Linked DNA regions of Homo sapiens: region 1 is linked to region 2. The links are contacts of gene promoters, found by promoter capture Hi-C in human tissues and cell types (Jung and others, 2019). All regions are on one chromosome and are shown on one strand. The core of a region is centred on a gene start or on the middle of the fragment in contact, and the rest is flanking DNA. Distances in the headings are between cores, read along the strand shown. Region 1 has its middle 350 kb from the start of PTCHD4. Region 2 holds the start of OPN5 (opsin 5).

Region 1 (7,590 bases), core at 1,938-4,437, 670 kb after region 2:
GCCATCATGAACATGTCACAGTGCTGCAGAGATTTTGTTTATGGCCAGTTTTGGGGCCAGTTTATGGCCAGATTTTGGGGGGGCCTGTTCCCAATACCTTACTCTTGCAAAAATGGCCATAATAAAAAAAAATTAAAAACAGTAGATGTTGGTGTGGTTGTGGTGAAAAGGGAACACTTCTACACTGCTGGTGGGAATGTAAACTAGTACAAAGACTATGGAAAACAGTGTGGAGAGTCCTTAAAGAACTAAAAGTAGAACTACCATTTGATCCAGCAATTCCACTACTGGGTATTTACTCAAATAAAAATAAGTTATTATATGAAAAAGATAAACACACATGCATATTTATAGCAGCACAATTTGCAGTTGCAAAAATATGGAACCGAACTAAGTGCCCAGCAATCAATGAGTGAATAAAGAAAAAAAGTGTGTGTGTGTATATATATATATATATATATATATATATATGCACCATGGAATATTACTCAGCAATAAAAAGGAACTAATTAATGGCATTTGCAACAACCTGGATGCAACTGGAGACTATTATTCTAAGTGAAGTAACTCAGGAATGGAAAATCAATCATCATATGTTCTCATTCATAAGAGGGAGCTAAGCTTTGAGGTTGCAAAGGCATAAGAACGATACATGGATTTTGGTGACTTAGGCAAAAGGGTGGGAGGGGTGTGAGGGAAAAAAGACTACAAATGGGGTTCGTTGTATACTGCTGGGGTGATGGGTGTACCAAAATCCCACAAATCACCACTAAAGAACTTATTCATGTAATCAAATACCACCAGTTTCCCCAAAACCCATGGAAATAAAGAATTTAAAAATAATATTTAAAATTTTTTGTGGGTACATAGTAGGTGTATATATTTTTGGCATACATAAGATGTTTTGATACAAGCATGCATGGAAAATAAGCACATCCTGGAGAATGGGGGATCCATCCTCTCAAGCATTTTCCTTTGAGTTACAAAGAATCTAATTATATTCTTTAAGTTATTTTAAAATATACAATTAAGTCATTATTGACTATAGGCACCCTATTGTGTTATCAAATAGTAGGTATTACTCATTCTTTCTAAGTTTTTATACCCATTAACCATCCCCACTTCCCCTCCAATTCCCCACTACCCTTCCCAGCCTCTTAAAACCATCCTTCTAGTCTCTGTGTCCATGAGTTCAATTCATTTGATTTTTAGATCTCCAAAATAAGTGATAACATGTGAGTTTATCTTTCTGTGCCTGGATTATTTCACTTAATATAATGATCATCAGTTCCATCCATGTTGTTGCAAAGGGCTGGATTTCATTTTTGGGGCGGGGGCTAGAGTTACTGATTTAGGAATGCAGCAACAAAAGAGTACACCAATCCACATTTTATAATCCCCTAAGCTGTAGATTTAGTTGTGCACACAGACCTAAGTCTTTTTGTTCAGGGTGGACTGTTCATAGATTGCTGGAAATCCTGGGAACAGACTGTCAATCCCTTTCTCACTGCCGATGAACCAGGAAACTTGTAGTCCTGGAGATTTCTGACTATTATCTTTGCCTACTCAGGGTAACCACCACTAGGATAAGGCAAAATTGATGGGGAAAATGAGGAAATGGATAGAAACAACCAGGGTTTTTGGTAATATCACTGAGCTACAAGATTGTACTTGTCTGAAGCCTTACCTCAGGACATACACTTACATGGACATATAACTTGCCATCGTTGTTAGACAGTTTAAATAAACTAATCTGTTATTTGCATCTAATGCAATTGAACTGATAGAAAACTGAAGTTATTTTTTCAATTTTGGCAAATAGCTATTTTATCTGATTAAAATACGAATGTATTGCTCACCTGAAAAATAAAATAGGTAGTATGAACATATGTAAACAGGATTCCTATCAGATTGCCTCAGGCACAGTTCATATAAGCTTGGCAGTATTGTTGGGGACACCAAATACTCATCAATTGAAAAGCTACCAAATAGTGAATTTTGACCGAAACACGATTTAAAAAAAGATGGGGAAGAGTGCTTTTGAAGGGGCAATGCTGCAAAGTGAAGATATATGTCATAAGATACACGAAGCTCTAATTATATAACAGATTTATGCTTCCAAAGCCATAACGTCCAACAGAACCACTTAGGAAATGGGCAACAAGATGAAACAAATGGACTGCTGAACTTTGAGGTGCAGTAAACTTTTTCCCATTCACCTGGAGCATTCTCATCCAACTGGAATTAGAACTGGCTGCAAGATAAATCATCTAAAATCTAGAGCTCTGAGTAGTGAAGAGATAAACATAAGATTAACTGTTCCATCTAAACTCATTTCTCATCACAAGGCTCAAATAAATCCCAGCGTTTGTTGTATATCAAAGTCACACTGCCATAAGGAAACCATCAGAATTTATTCTGAGGATTCTTTGTCATCTCATAAAAAATGGGTTACTAACAAGGCAGTTATCGATAGCATTTATGAAATAGACTTTTATATGCACAGTATCCTTACATATTTTTTGCATAAATTAATATAGATAGATACATTTAGTACTAAACAGAATGAGTAGATTTTCTTCGTAATTATTAATTGCATCAATTGGTTAAAAATTCATTGCAAATTATTAAAAAATTATAGCTGATGATGATGCTTTGGAGATAATAAAATATAGAGATACAGTATAAGATAAAGAAAAGCATCATAAGAATTGACCCACTGAGAAATGTATCCAAAGTTGAAGTGATCAAGATGATCAGTTGTTTCCTTTGTGGGTCTTCCTTGACCCACTGGGGATGGCTAAATTTCTTCCTTTCCTGATGGTAACTTCTCTCTTCCATAAATCGCTCTTGAAAATGTCCTGAGAAGCAAGTAGGCAAAGGCATATAAACATACATGTGAGGTGTGCTAAGCAGTGATGGAAAAAAACCCAAAACCTCCCTAGTTCCCTATAATTGTAGTTATCTTATGTAAATAGAAATGATGCATTTATGACATTTCATTCCTTTACTACACTACATTTTCCACCACACATTGAGTGTATATTCACACTAATCAGTAGATCTTATTTTGAAAATGTAATTTGAAAAATGTCAAATTCCTAGAATCTTCCCCATACTGTTAATAGATAAAAGTACTCATATGATTTTATATGGAATAAAAAATTTGGGGAATGAGACAGTATGAGACAGCAAAAGAAATCATACAACACTTTTACTCAGGTTACATTAGGGAGTCCATACTATGGTACCAGAAATAGCTGTAGGAAAGCATTCATTGATATAACAAACAAGTATTTAATTTTTATTATGTACCAGGTACTATTCTAGATGATGGGGATGAAACACTAATTAATATGTGATCGTTGACTTTGAAAAGCTTATAGTATAATATAATAATACAAGCAACTACTAAAGTGAAATAGAAACCAAGATAGATGATCCCAAGAATGCTTTACTGGCAATGAAAGTATGCGTTGGAAAGATGGCCCCAAACTGAGTCTTAAAGGTCAAATAGGCATTTGCCAACAGCATGGAGTTGGATGAGAGTCAGAGGTGTGGAAAGGTCATTCTAAGAGGAACAAGTACTTGGAGAAGCCACATCTAGTTAAAAGCCAAGAAGATACTATGTATGCACTCAGGTGACATTGGCAGTGTTTCTCATAGAGCTGGGAAATAAGAACCCAGCTGCATACCTGTATCTTAGTTGACAACACTGTATTCGATTGAGAGATCATGAATTTTAGTTAATTATTTCTGCCACTGAGTTACTAGTTTCTAGGTGGTAGCTGTTGACATACAAATGCAAGAAATAATTGAGAGAACATGCAATGTGAATATTGATGAGAGTCAAAGGGGAAGCACCAACAGTCAAAAACAGTGGTGAAGCAGAGGCCAGAGAAGGAAACTTCAAGAGGAAGAGAGCGATAAGGTGTGAAATGCTGCAGATAAGTCACATAAAATAGGGTGAAAAAAAGCATTTGGTAATTAGGAAATCACTAAAGTGGTACCTGAGTGTAGTATCTTGAAGAGTATATGGAAGACAGTTAAACGCAGCAATTGAGGAAATTTCTCTCTTGAAACTTGTATTTTACAGAAAAGAGAAATATAAATTTGTAGATAGAGCCAATATAGGATTATTTTTATTATTATTATTTTGCTTGCCCTTCCCCTCTTCATTCTTATATGGAAAATAATTGAGCACTGACAGGCAGCCGTGAGAATGAAAAGATGAAAAATTTAAAAAGATTTGAAATCAGATGATATGGAATAGTATTTGGGCTCTGCCTAGTTAGTTGCCCACCTTGCACAAATCAGTAACTATCTGAGTTTCGGTGTTTGCTTGAGAAAATAGGAACAGTAATATATGTCCTACCTTATTCATATGAATATTTAGATGATTACATATAATAATATATGTGAAAGTAGGTTATAGGTCAAATTCATGATTAGCTTTCACTCAAATTAGACCTCTGTAAAATAAAAAGTAAATAATAGATACGTTGATTATCAGACTAAAATAAAAATACATTTAGATAAAATAATTAAGTTGGAGAGTGAATGTTAACTTGTTTAACTGTAATTTGTGACTCCACCAAATTGTAATTTTTGATCCACTTCCTATTTGAAATAGTTTTATATTTCACAGGGTAGGCTGTATATAAGTGCTAGAAATTCAAATTCATCTTTCAGCTGCTAAGTATGATAAAAGAATGTTCCAATAAACTTAATTCTCTATTTTGGCAAAGACTAAAACTGCAAATACGCACAATGCAAATTTAATCTATTCTGTTTATAGTCTCACTGTCACTTCAAGGTCCTATTGGGATGCCATATGGGCTGGTTTATTGCTTAGATGAAGTTTACAAATATAAACAAATAAATAATTTTGGGGATTTCTACAGAGTCAAATTAAGTTGGATGCAATGTCAAATAAACAGCACATATATCATAACTTCACAAAGGAATAGAATTTATTATATTTCAGGAAACGAATTCCCAAATTATATTTTACTGGATATACAAAAATGCTTGCTTGCATCTAATGTATTTCAAATCTGCCACTTATTTAAAGAGTCATGCTTTTTACCACAGTAAATAATACAATTTAAAATGTATTCATATCCCAATGAGTCTGCCTGTTTTCTAATATGTTAACAGATCTTATTTATCCAATTGAATGTTCACTAACAAATTTAGTCTAGCTGCATTTTTTCTTCTTTCCTAAAGTAAAATTCTGAGATGGAGAACAAAGTGATTGTTGACAGAACTAACGTTCAGCTTCTTTAATGGTAAGATATTTAAGAGAAGTCAGCTAATGCTTTAAAATAAATATTAAATTTGTGCACAGGAAAAAAAAATGGTTGGAAACCAACTGATGTGGAATAATGCTTAAAAATGTTTGCTCATCCTAATATCTTTAAAAAAGCCAATGAACAAACACAAATCAACAAGTCATATAAATACAGAAATTTTTTATTAAATCGAGAATGTAATTCAGGAAAACTATATAATGTTTGGTGGATATCATATTAAAGCATAGATATCTGAACTGTGAATAATTTTAATAGTGAATTCATCTCTATACTTCATCCATTAAGTGTTACTAAAGGACAAATGTGTGTAAGGATCTTCTGATTGACTTTTATTTATTTACATATTTTTATATCATAAAATACCAGTTTTATTAAGAAATATTTTCTTTTTCTATATCAGAGAATTACTCTACATGATGAACATCAGTCATTATGTCATTATCATCAACATTATCATGAAGAATTATTATAAAGTATTTCCAGGAAATCTTTCAATGTACAGTGTACTTTTTGAAATACTGCTGCATTGACTTAGCAAAAATTCTGAAATTGAGGGAGAAATCATATCTTTTTTGTAACTTTTAAGTTCAGGGGTACATATGCAGGTTTGGTATATAGGTAAATTTGTGTCATGGAGTTTTGTTTACAGATTATTTTGTCACCCAGGTATTAAGCCTGGTAACCATTAGTAATTTTTCCTGATCCTCTCCCTCCTTCCACCCTCCACCCTCCAGTAGACCCCAGTGTCTGTTGTTCCCCTCTATGTGCCCATATGTTCTCATCATTTAACTACTACTTATAAGTGAGAACAGGCAGTACTTGGTTTTCTGTTCCTGCGTTAGTCATATCTTCTTCTAAAGATTGGAAAGTTGGAAGTGAGAGAGGTAAAGTTATATAGCTTTAAGTCACAAAGTCAGAAGCCATAATTTAGTTTTCGATTCTTAGATGTTGCATTCTTCTGTAGACCACAATTTGTAGTTTACATTTGCTAACAGTTTATAGCTAACAAAATACTTTCTCAAGTGTTATCTCAGTGAGCTCTTTGTATTGAGCTACTAAATAAGCATCAATATATACATTTTGCAATTGAATGTTCTAACATTGAGAGGAATTGAATGTCCTGTTCAATCTAACACAACTTGTTTGTGCAAATGTCTGTATTGAAACAAAATATATCTAATCTTTTAACTTTGTAATCAATTCAGGTTATACATTGTGTCATATGTTTAACTAGTATGTATAATTAGTATATGTTTCATATATTACTAATTATTTTATTTTCAATTAGCTGGGCTATGATCGCAGAGATTTCTCAGTTTACAAAATTTCTAGGATTTTAGATCCTTATAACCCAGTCCATTCTCTCCTCCAAGTGTTTTTTAAAGACTCCACCAAAGGTTTTTGGTAAGGAGACTTCAAGGAATTCCAAGGGAAATTTCCTTGAATCAATGGGAGAGGAAAAAGTAGAATAGTGAAAATGATAGTGCTCTAGGCATTGAAGCTTGGCATCTATTTATTCATTTGGTCTTGGCTGGTCCACCACACTTACCAGACTTCCATTTAACCTATATAAACCAAGGTTTTCCATTAGATGATCCTGAGACACCATGCAAATCTAAAACTTCCCAGTAAACAAAACTTAAAGGTATATTATTATTTATTTGATGAGTAAACATCAATAAATTAAATGTGATGGAATTCTTTCTATATAAAATAAATGTAGTAGTTATAGTCTGATATTCAAGTCTAAAATTCCAAATTATGACTATTTGCTTTTATTTACTCTATCTCATGTGTGAAGGCAAGATTTTTAAGGAAACAAGACACAAATTATAACTGCTTTTGTGCTCACTCTAGGCATATCAATTCACGCCATCGTAAGATCATAGTGGTGGAAAATAGGCAAACTCACATCAATTTTGAAACTGTATTAGACAGCTACTTTGAAAGAAATCTCAATTCACAGTTGTGGTAAACATAAAGGTTGCCCAGTGCAACTGTTTCATTACTGAGAAATTAGGAAATAAGCTATTTATTGCTATACACAAGAGCTATGCTCTCTGATCTATGTCTTGTCTTCTGTAGTGGGCTGACGATCACCTCTAAATATAGCAGTTCCCATTCCCTGGAACTTGTAAATGTTACCTTATTTAGAAAAAAAAAAAAGTTCTGTGCAGGTGTGATTAAATTAATGATTTTAAGATGGGAAGATTATCCTAAATTATCCAGACAGGCCCAAAATATCATCACATGTGTCTTTATAAAAGCAAAGCAG
Region 2 (7,262 bases), core at 932-3,431:
TAAGTTGGGAGGATCACCTGAGCCTAGGAGGTCGAGGATGCAGTGAGCACTGATCACATCGCTGCACTCCAGCCTGGGCAACAGAGTGAGACCCTATCTCAAAAAAATTCTCTAAAACCAAGTAAAGCAGCATTTTATTGTTTTATATTCTTGTATTATTATTATATTTTCTGACCATTAGTTGCATCTTTTCTCTGTCCAGAAAATGATAGATACCCTCCCTAAGTCTAGATAACATGGTAAACCTCTGTTGTCCTACCTCATAATGCTGGGTTTGTAGTAGATGTTCAGTGAATACTTGAGTTAACACACAAGCATCCATTGATTCAGCATGGGACCCTGAGGAAATCTCTTATACAATAGCTATATCTTGATGGATAGGCAAGTTTGGGAAAAGTAAGCATCTCAGCATATAATAAATATACAGGACCCCCCATTCATAATATGCTTTCGAGTCCGATATCCTATTGCTCCTACAACAAGCATGAGTGACAGGTAAGAAGGAGACTGCCCATTTTACAGATGAAGTGGTTGCAGTTCAGAAAGTTTAAATGATTTGCTCAAGATCAGAGGGTGGGTATCACAGCTGGACTCCAACCTTCATCTTATGATTCTGAAGCTAAGGTGGAGGACAGGACTGGACAGCCAGTTGGGCGGGGGCAATCTTTGGGGAGGAGAGAGTTTACCAGAACAAGAGGCAGTCAAAGGGGAATCAGGAGTTTGAAAGGTAAAGATAAACTTTCACCTGGGGTAGGTCTTGGGATGTGGTGCATCTGGCAGCCAAAGATTTCTCCTACAGCTTTCTAACCATCTCAGGGAGAAGGATTTGGAATGAACATTAGCACATGACTGTCCTCAAACTGTGTGTAGGAGACTGTAGTTTCAGCCAACTGGCCACTGAAAGGGTCACTAGCCTTCCTCTGTAAGCTGTAAGTTGGCAGTTAGAAAGGGGTTAAATTCATGTCTTTTGCGAAGGTGAATTACATGGTTAGATATGTGCCGATCACCCTGTCACCGCCTGTGGGGCACACAACTCTGTGTTCCACTTGCTGTCTCATATAATGCCCGAAATTGTTGCCTAGAGAGCTGAACAGTGACATCTGTTGGTTCGATTTGAAATAGGCAAGTTCAAAAGAGAAACAGCCACACTAGTATTTCTTCCCCTTTCAAAACAAATAGGAACAATCATGACAAAGGAATGACCCTTCCAAAGGAAGTTTTAACATCAGCAGCATACTTTATCTGAAGAACAACACACGACTCCAAGTTTCAGGATGAGGGATATCATGTGACTTTTATTTTTGCAGAAAGCCCATCAAAGACTTTGTGTAAACCTTTTAAAACTCCAATTCAAAAGAAACAGTACTAAGACCTGTGTATCTGAGAAATTCCTCAATGCTCAAGATTTCATCCAGAAGCATAAATGAGCAAATAGAAAGTATGGATTTGGGGCAGTGGTGAGAAATAATGAAATTGCTTTCTGCTCTAGGAAACTTGAGAAACAAACCTTCCTGTGGATGTGCCTGTGAGTTACAACCCAGCTTGAATCCTTTCTAAATAGCTCCAAATTTCAAGATCACTTTGACAATCACCTAGCTCTTAGCTTCAATTAATTAAGTGTCCATGTTCCTTTGTACTGAATGCTCTATTTCTTTCCTTACAAAACTCTAAACCTCATTGAATGTACAATGGAAATGATTTTCTGGGAAATCTGGATAATCAAAAAATACTATATTCTGACAAGTTATATATATACATATGTAAATTTTTTATATATTATATATAATTTATATACATAAATTATATATATATAGTGTGTGTGTGTGTATGTGTGCACACTCCATACAATATCATTTCCTGCTCAGACCTTTACAAAAATTGCTAAGAAACAGTAAATTGCACAGTTTGGCCTTCAACCTTTTAATCACCCCAAGGAGAAAAGAAGTGGCTCAAAGAGTAGCATGAGAAAACAGAGGAGAAAATGAAGGCTTGGATAATCTGCCAACCGAATAACTGAGTAATGACATAATTGGATCATTGAAAAAAATGTTAAAATTTTTACCAGTTATTAATTAGAGAATCATGCATGACCCTGGGAACTTGCTTTTTGTTTTAAAACAGGAGCCACGATTATGAAATGGTTCAAGCTGGCTTATTCAGGTCTGCTGAGATCTCTACTGGTTTGCTTTTCAGATCCCTCGTGGTTCGAGAACAGAATGGCGTTAAATCACACTGCCCTGCCTCAGGACGAGCGCCTGCCCCATTACCTTCGAGATGGGGATCCTTTTGCTTCCAAACTTTCTTGGGAAGCGGATTTAGTGGCTGGCTTTTACCTAACAATAATTGGTAAGCTTCCTTAATTCTTCTGTGCAAAGGCTGCATTTAGAAAATTCATGGGCTGATATGTTAATTTTGTGAAAGGATTCTGATACTTAAGTGGATAGTTTAGTGGAGGCGAAGAGTGGGGAAAGGCAGAAGATGGAATGGCATTATGGCATTCAATAAATGTTTCCTAGAAATGACTCTTTATTATCATTATTATTAGGAATAAAATTCCATTGATAATCCAAGAACTCTTACAGCAAAATTATTTATCCATTTCATTTTGGTTACTTTGGGAGTAGATTTACTTTCTGAATACCAAAATTAATGATAATGATATTTTATTTAAACAGAGTGCTTTTTAAATAATGTTTTTGACATAATCATAAGTTTTAGGTTGAGAATGGGCCTTAAAAATAATCTAGGTCAGTCTCCTGTTCTCACAACTGTGCAAAACTCAATTGTGCTATTGTGCTATAGTACTATAGTAATGGCAGAAACACTGAGTTTACTTCACCTAAAAGTAAAGTCGCATCAAAATAGCTAAGCCATTTTGGTGACAGTTGAAAAATGTGTTGGTGATAAATGGAAGAAAGTCCGGGGTCAAAAGATTTTTGTGCATAATTGACGAAAGGGTGCACCTGCTTCTAGACTGCATGATCTCATTCATTCAGTAGCCACATGTGGCTTTTCCAAATTGAAAGTTGCTGTAGTGTAAATACTCACCAGATACTGAAGGCTCAGTACAACAAAAAGTGGTATAAAATATCTCATTAATAATTTTTAAAAATTAAATACATGTTGAACATACAACATTTTAGGTATGTTAAGCTAAATAAAATATATTATTAAAATTAATTTACTGTAAATTTTAAATTTATAAATTAAATTTTTACTTTGTAAATTTTTACTTTGTTTAATGTGGCTACCAGAAAATTTTAGAATCCATATGTGGCTCGCATTTCTGGCTTACATTACATTTATACTGGATAGCACTAATCTAGACAGTTAGGATTTAATTTAACCACCTATTTAAATTTAAGAAAAGAAACCATACTTTTCTTAAATTTAAAATTGTTGTTTTAACTTTGGGTGACCAGTGTGAAGGTGGGTTATGTCTTTAGGTTTGTTTGCCTTTAATTTTTTCAGATGTTGGGTCAAACTTGCTCTCTCTCTCTTTTCTCTTTGTTTCTATCTTTCTCTTCCACCCTTCTTCCCTTCCTCCCTTTCTCTCTTTTTCTCCCTCTCTCATCTATTTATTACTGGCTAAGAATTTCATTTAACCTCCTGAAAGTAGCAAAACTCATTAGAAAATACTTGATATCCCTCTATGGTCAGTACTTGAGGCAAAAGGAACTCATGTGATTCAACCAAATTCTGCTGTAAAGTGATTCCCTGGGTCTTTGTCTTTATTGTTGTTAGTGTTTTACTAGTTTAAATTCTGTTTCTTATAAATGAGTCCCCATCTCTTTTCAACATAAATATATATTGAGCGCCCACTCTTTGCCACTGTTTTAAGTTGCTGGGAATAGAGCAGAGAATAAAATGGGCAAACATTCTGCTGGAACAGAAACTGTCTTATCTCTGTAAAATCCACATTGCATTTTTATTAAACTTAAGTACTTTCAATTAACAGAAAAGGCAGAAAAATAAGCAACTTGATCAATTGTATTTAGCATAGCTCCATCACTTTCAAGGAATGAATTAAAAAAGTAACATCAATAACCTGACAAATCTCTCCAGACAACACAAAACAGAGAGGCCTATCAGTCCATTCCCAATCTTAAGCAGGGAGGATTGCAGGAGGATTGCAACCAGGGTGAGGAAATCAGGAGAATTTCCCACCTGATACACATGGAGTTGGAAGGAAAGTCCACAATCATATTCCAGTGGGTTTGCTGAGATGGAGCCAGAAAAACAGGTTGAAAAAGAGTCCCTGGACAGGGGGAGCTTCAGGAGGATCAGGGCACTAGGAGGTGGAGCCAATGGTATGTTAGAGAACAGTCACGCAGGGTGAGGAGAGGGGTCGACTGGAGGGGTTTGGACTCACCCTAGATCCACTTCTTGGACTTGGCCGTGTGTCTGGTTTTCACTCTCCTAGAATAGGCTAGTGTAGATGTTGCAAGATTCCTTTTTTTTTTGGACATAGAGTCTCACTCTGTCACCCAGGTTGGAGTGCAGTGGTGCGATCTCGGCTCACTGCAACCTCCATCTCCCAAGTTCAAGCAATTCTTGTGCCTCAACCTCCTGAGTAGCTGGGGCTACAGGTGTGCACCACCATGCTTGGCTAATTTTTGTGTTTTTTAGTAGAGACGGGGTTTCGCCATGTTGGCCAGGCTGGTATTGAACTCCTGGCCTCAAGTGATTTGCCCACCTCAGCCTCCCAAAGTGTTGGGATTACAGGCGTGAGCCACCGCGCCTGGCCAAGATGTGTGTGTCCAGATTGCTTTTAAGGAGCCAGAGTGGAATAAACATTCTTGGTGGGCTTTGTTAAATACTAGAAGTCTTAAGAGACAATGGAAAGATAACAATATAAATCTGAGTTTGAAATACAGGAGACATAAATTACAAACCCATTTTCTACCTTCCACACTTTTACTATTATTGTAAATACTGAGTTTATTAACAGTTAATATATATGATATTTTTGTATCCATAAATGATATAGGATTTGATAATCTAAAAGTGTCCCCACTTTGGTCTTTATCTTCTTAATCTGGTTGTCTTTTCAGTAATATTAAGAATAAATTTGCTTTTTCCTGACACTCATCTATAACATATATATATTGCTTGTTAGAATAATTTACATGCAATGAATAGAGAGGTGACTATTTTTTGATAATGCTTTGGGCACTGGGTGAAACCTTATGAAGCAGGGTCAGTAAAGAAAATTTAAGGAAGGAAAAGTAAGAAAACAAATATTTTCAAAAGAGATGTAGACAGATGAAAGGTGTTTCAATGAGCCTTGTGTATCAAACGAAAATGGATACTTGTTTTTACTCTTTTTGGATACAAAGTAGGTGGCATTAAGTTTATACTTTTTCAAGCCACGTTTTCACATTTTGCTTTCCTAGCTGGTTTCCTTGAGTGAGACCTGTTTCATTTTAGTTGGTTTGCTCTGGAACTCCGTAATCTCTTTTATTTTTCTCTTCTTCTGCTTTATGAAAGCTAAAGAGGTTTTAATGGACCATTAAGCAGCACTGACTCCAGGGAGTCAGAATTTCCTAAGAGCACAATGCAGTTAGTTCCTGGTGGTTTCATACCATCAGCTGAATCACACATTTCTTTCTTTGCCCCCAAAATGAATTGTGGTGGAGAAGTAGAAATTAAAATAGAAAACTCTGGGTTTCTCCTGTTAATACTCTCCTTATTCCTTACTACTAAAGGCAGCTGTACCAGATTCTCATTTATACACAGCTACACTATGAAGCAAGAATTCCTGAAGAAATCTACTCTACATGTTAAGCTATGGAAGTAGGTGTATTCTTTTCTTAAATAAAGTCAGTAGGGATTGGGTCTTTTTGGATTTAAACTGGGTTTGTAAGAACTTTCGAACAGTTTCATTGTAATGCCAAAGGCAACTAGTCATTAATAAAAGGATATGAAAAAGTGGGAACACACTTATGGCATTGTTGGTAGGTTCGGTGGGTTGAGGGTCACTTTCTCTCCCCTTGGTGGGAGGGACAGTGCCCAGGTTCTCGATTGTCACCCACTTACCCTTGATATCTAGTCCAGTAGCAGCTGAAGGCTGTCCTATCTGCCAGACACTCAGTGTCCATGTCTCCCAAAGAGGCGGAAGTCCTGGGGCGTCTCTGGGAGATGTCCATTTTCTTGAAGGGAGTTATGCCAGTCATACCTGGCCTCTGCCTCTCCTGAACACTGGTGCTCCCTTAGGAGTTGACAGTGATACTGAAGGCACCTTCTTTGGTTGGCTTCATCTTCAGAATTTATCAAGAGCTAAGGGTTTAACCCTACTGATCAGAGGGAGGGAGTTCTATAAAGCCAATAATCTATAAAAATGGCTGAGGAAAGTACTCCACTCTGGGGGCCAGGACAAGAACTGACCATTGGGATTCCCACACTTTCCTGAGCCTCGCGGGGAAGTTAGCGATGCCTTTTTCTGGGTAAGTTCAGTCTTATAATCCCTGACTCCTGCCCCATTGGCCTGTCACTCACAACTCATGCTTTTTATTTCATCTTCTTAATTTAGATTTTTTTATTTAGAGTCCTCTCACTACCCTCTAAATCTATGGTGTCCATTTTTGAAGTTGAGAAGTGTTTCATATCTGAGTGAACTCGAAATCTTAGTTTTAACGATTGGAATTTTTATTTTTCCTTGTAGGGATTCTGTCCACATTTGGAAATGGATATGTCCTTTACATGTCTTCTAGACGAAAGAAGAAGCTGAGACCCGCTGAAATAATGACTATCAATTTAGCAGTCTGTGATCTGGGGATTTCAGGTAACACAACCATGCTGTGTTTTCTTTGTGGGTTTAAACTACTCCCCATTCTAAAGTACTCACTGTCTCAAACGTCACCCCCTGACATCTCTTCCCTTCACATCTCCTTCCACTCTTCGCTTCACAAATCAACTTTCAGAGTTTTGTGGTAAGTCAATGGGGTGCTGTCCGGCTGACAAGATTATTCATTTAATATTTATTGAGTCTTTTCTGTGTGTCAGGCATGTTAGATGCTGAAGGCACAATTTGAAATAATATGTGATACCTCAGATGTCTCAAAGTGTAGTGGGCTAAATGATTCAGAAATCAGAAATCAGGAGGCAAATCCCAGGTCAGTATTTTAAGCTTCTTTACACCTCTTCAACCCTTATGGAAGTCTGATTAAAATAAACATCAACAAAGGAATCTTGAAGGGTAAATGACAGTTGAAGACAGTTGAAGGCAGTTGAGAGGTGAATGTAGGAAGAGGAAAGAGGTG

What was found. The method cuts DNA at HindIII sites, captures the fragments that hold promoters and counts their contacts. A contact is called where the count stands out against the background at its distance.
Region 1: a fragment that was not itself captured here is called in contact with the fragment with the promoter of OPN5 in region 2 in 1 of the 25 tissues and cell types used here (dorsolateral prefrontal cortex).

What each region holds. Positions count from the first base shown.
Region 1 is chr6:48,453,370-48,460,959 of GRCh38, forward strand. No RefSeq gene overlaps it. Among named protein-coding and RNA genes, the nearest start is that of PTCHD4, 350 kb to the left of the region's middle. The HindIII fragment of the contact is 3,819 bases long and covers 1,279-5,097 here.
Region 2 is chr6:47,779,851-47,787,112 of GRCh38, forward strand. OPN5 (opsin 5) reads left to right here and starts at 2,182. Exons shown (of 7, transcript NM_181744.4): 1 at 2,182-2,346; 2 at 6,665-6,784. The coding sequence starts at 2,217. The HindIII fragment of the contact is 6,027 bases long and covers 1-4,740 here.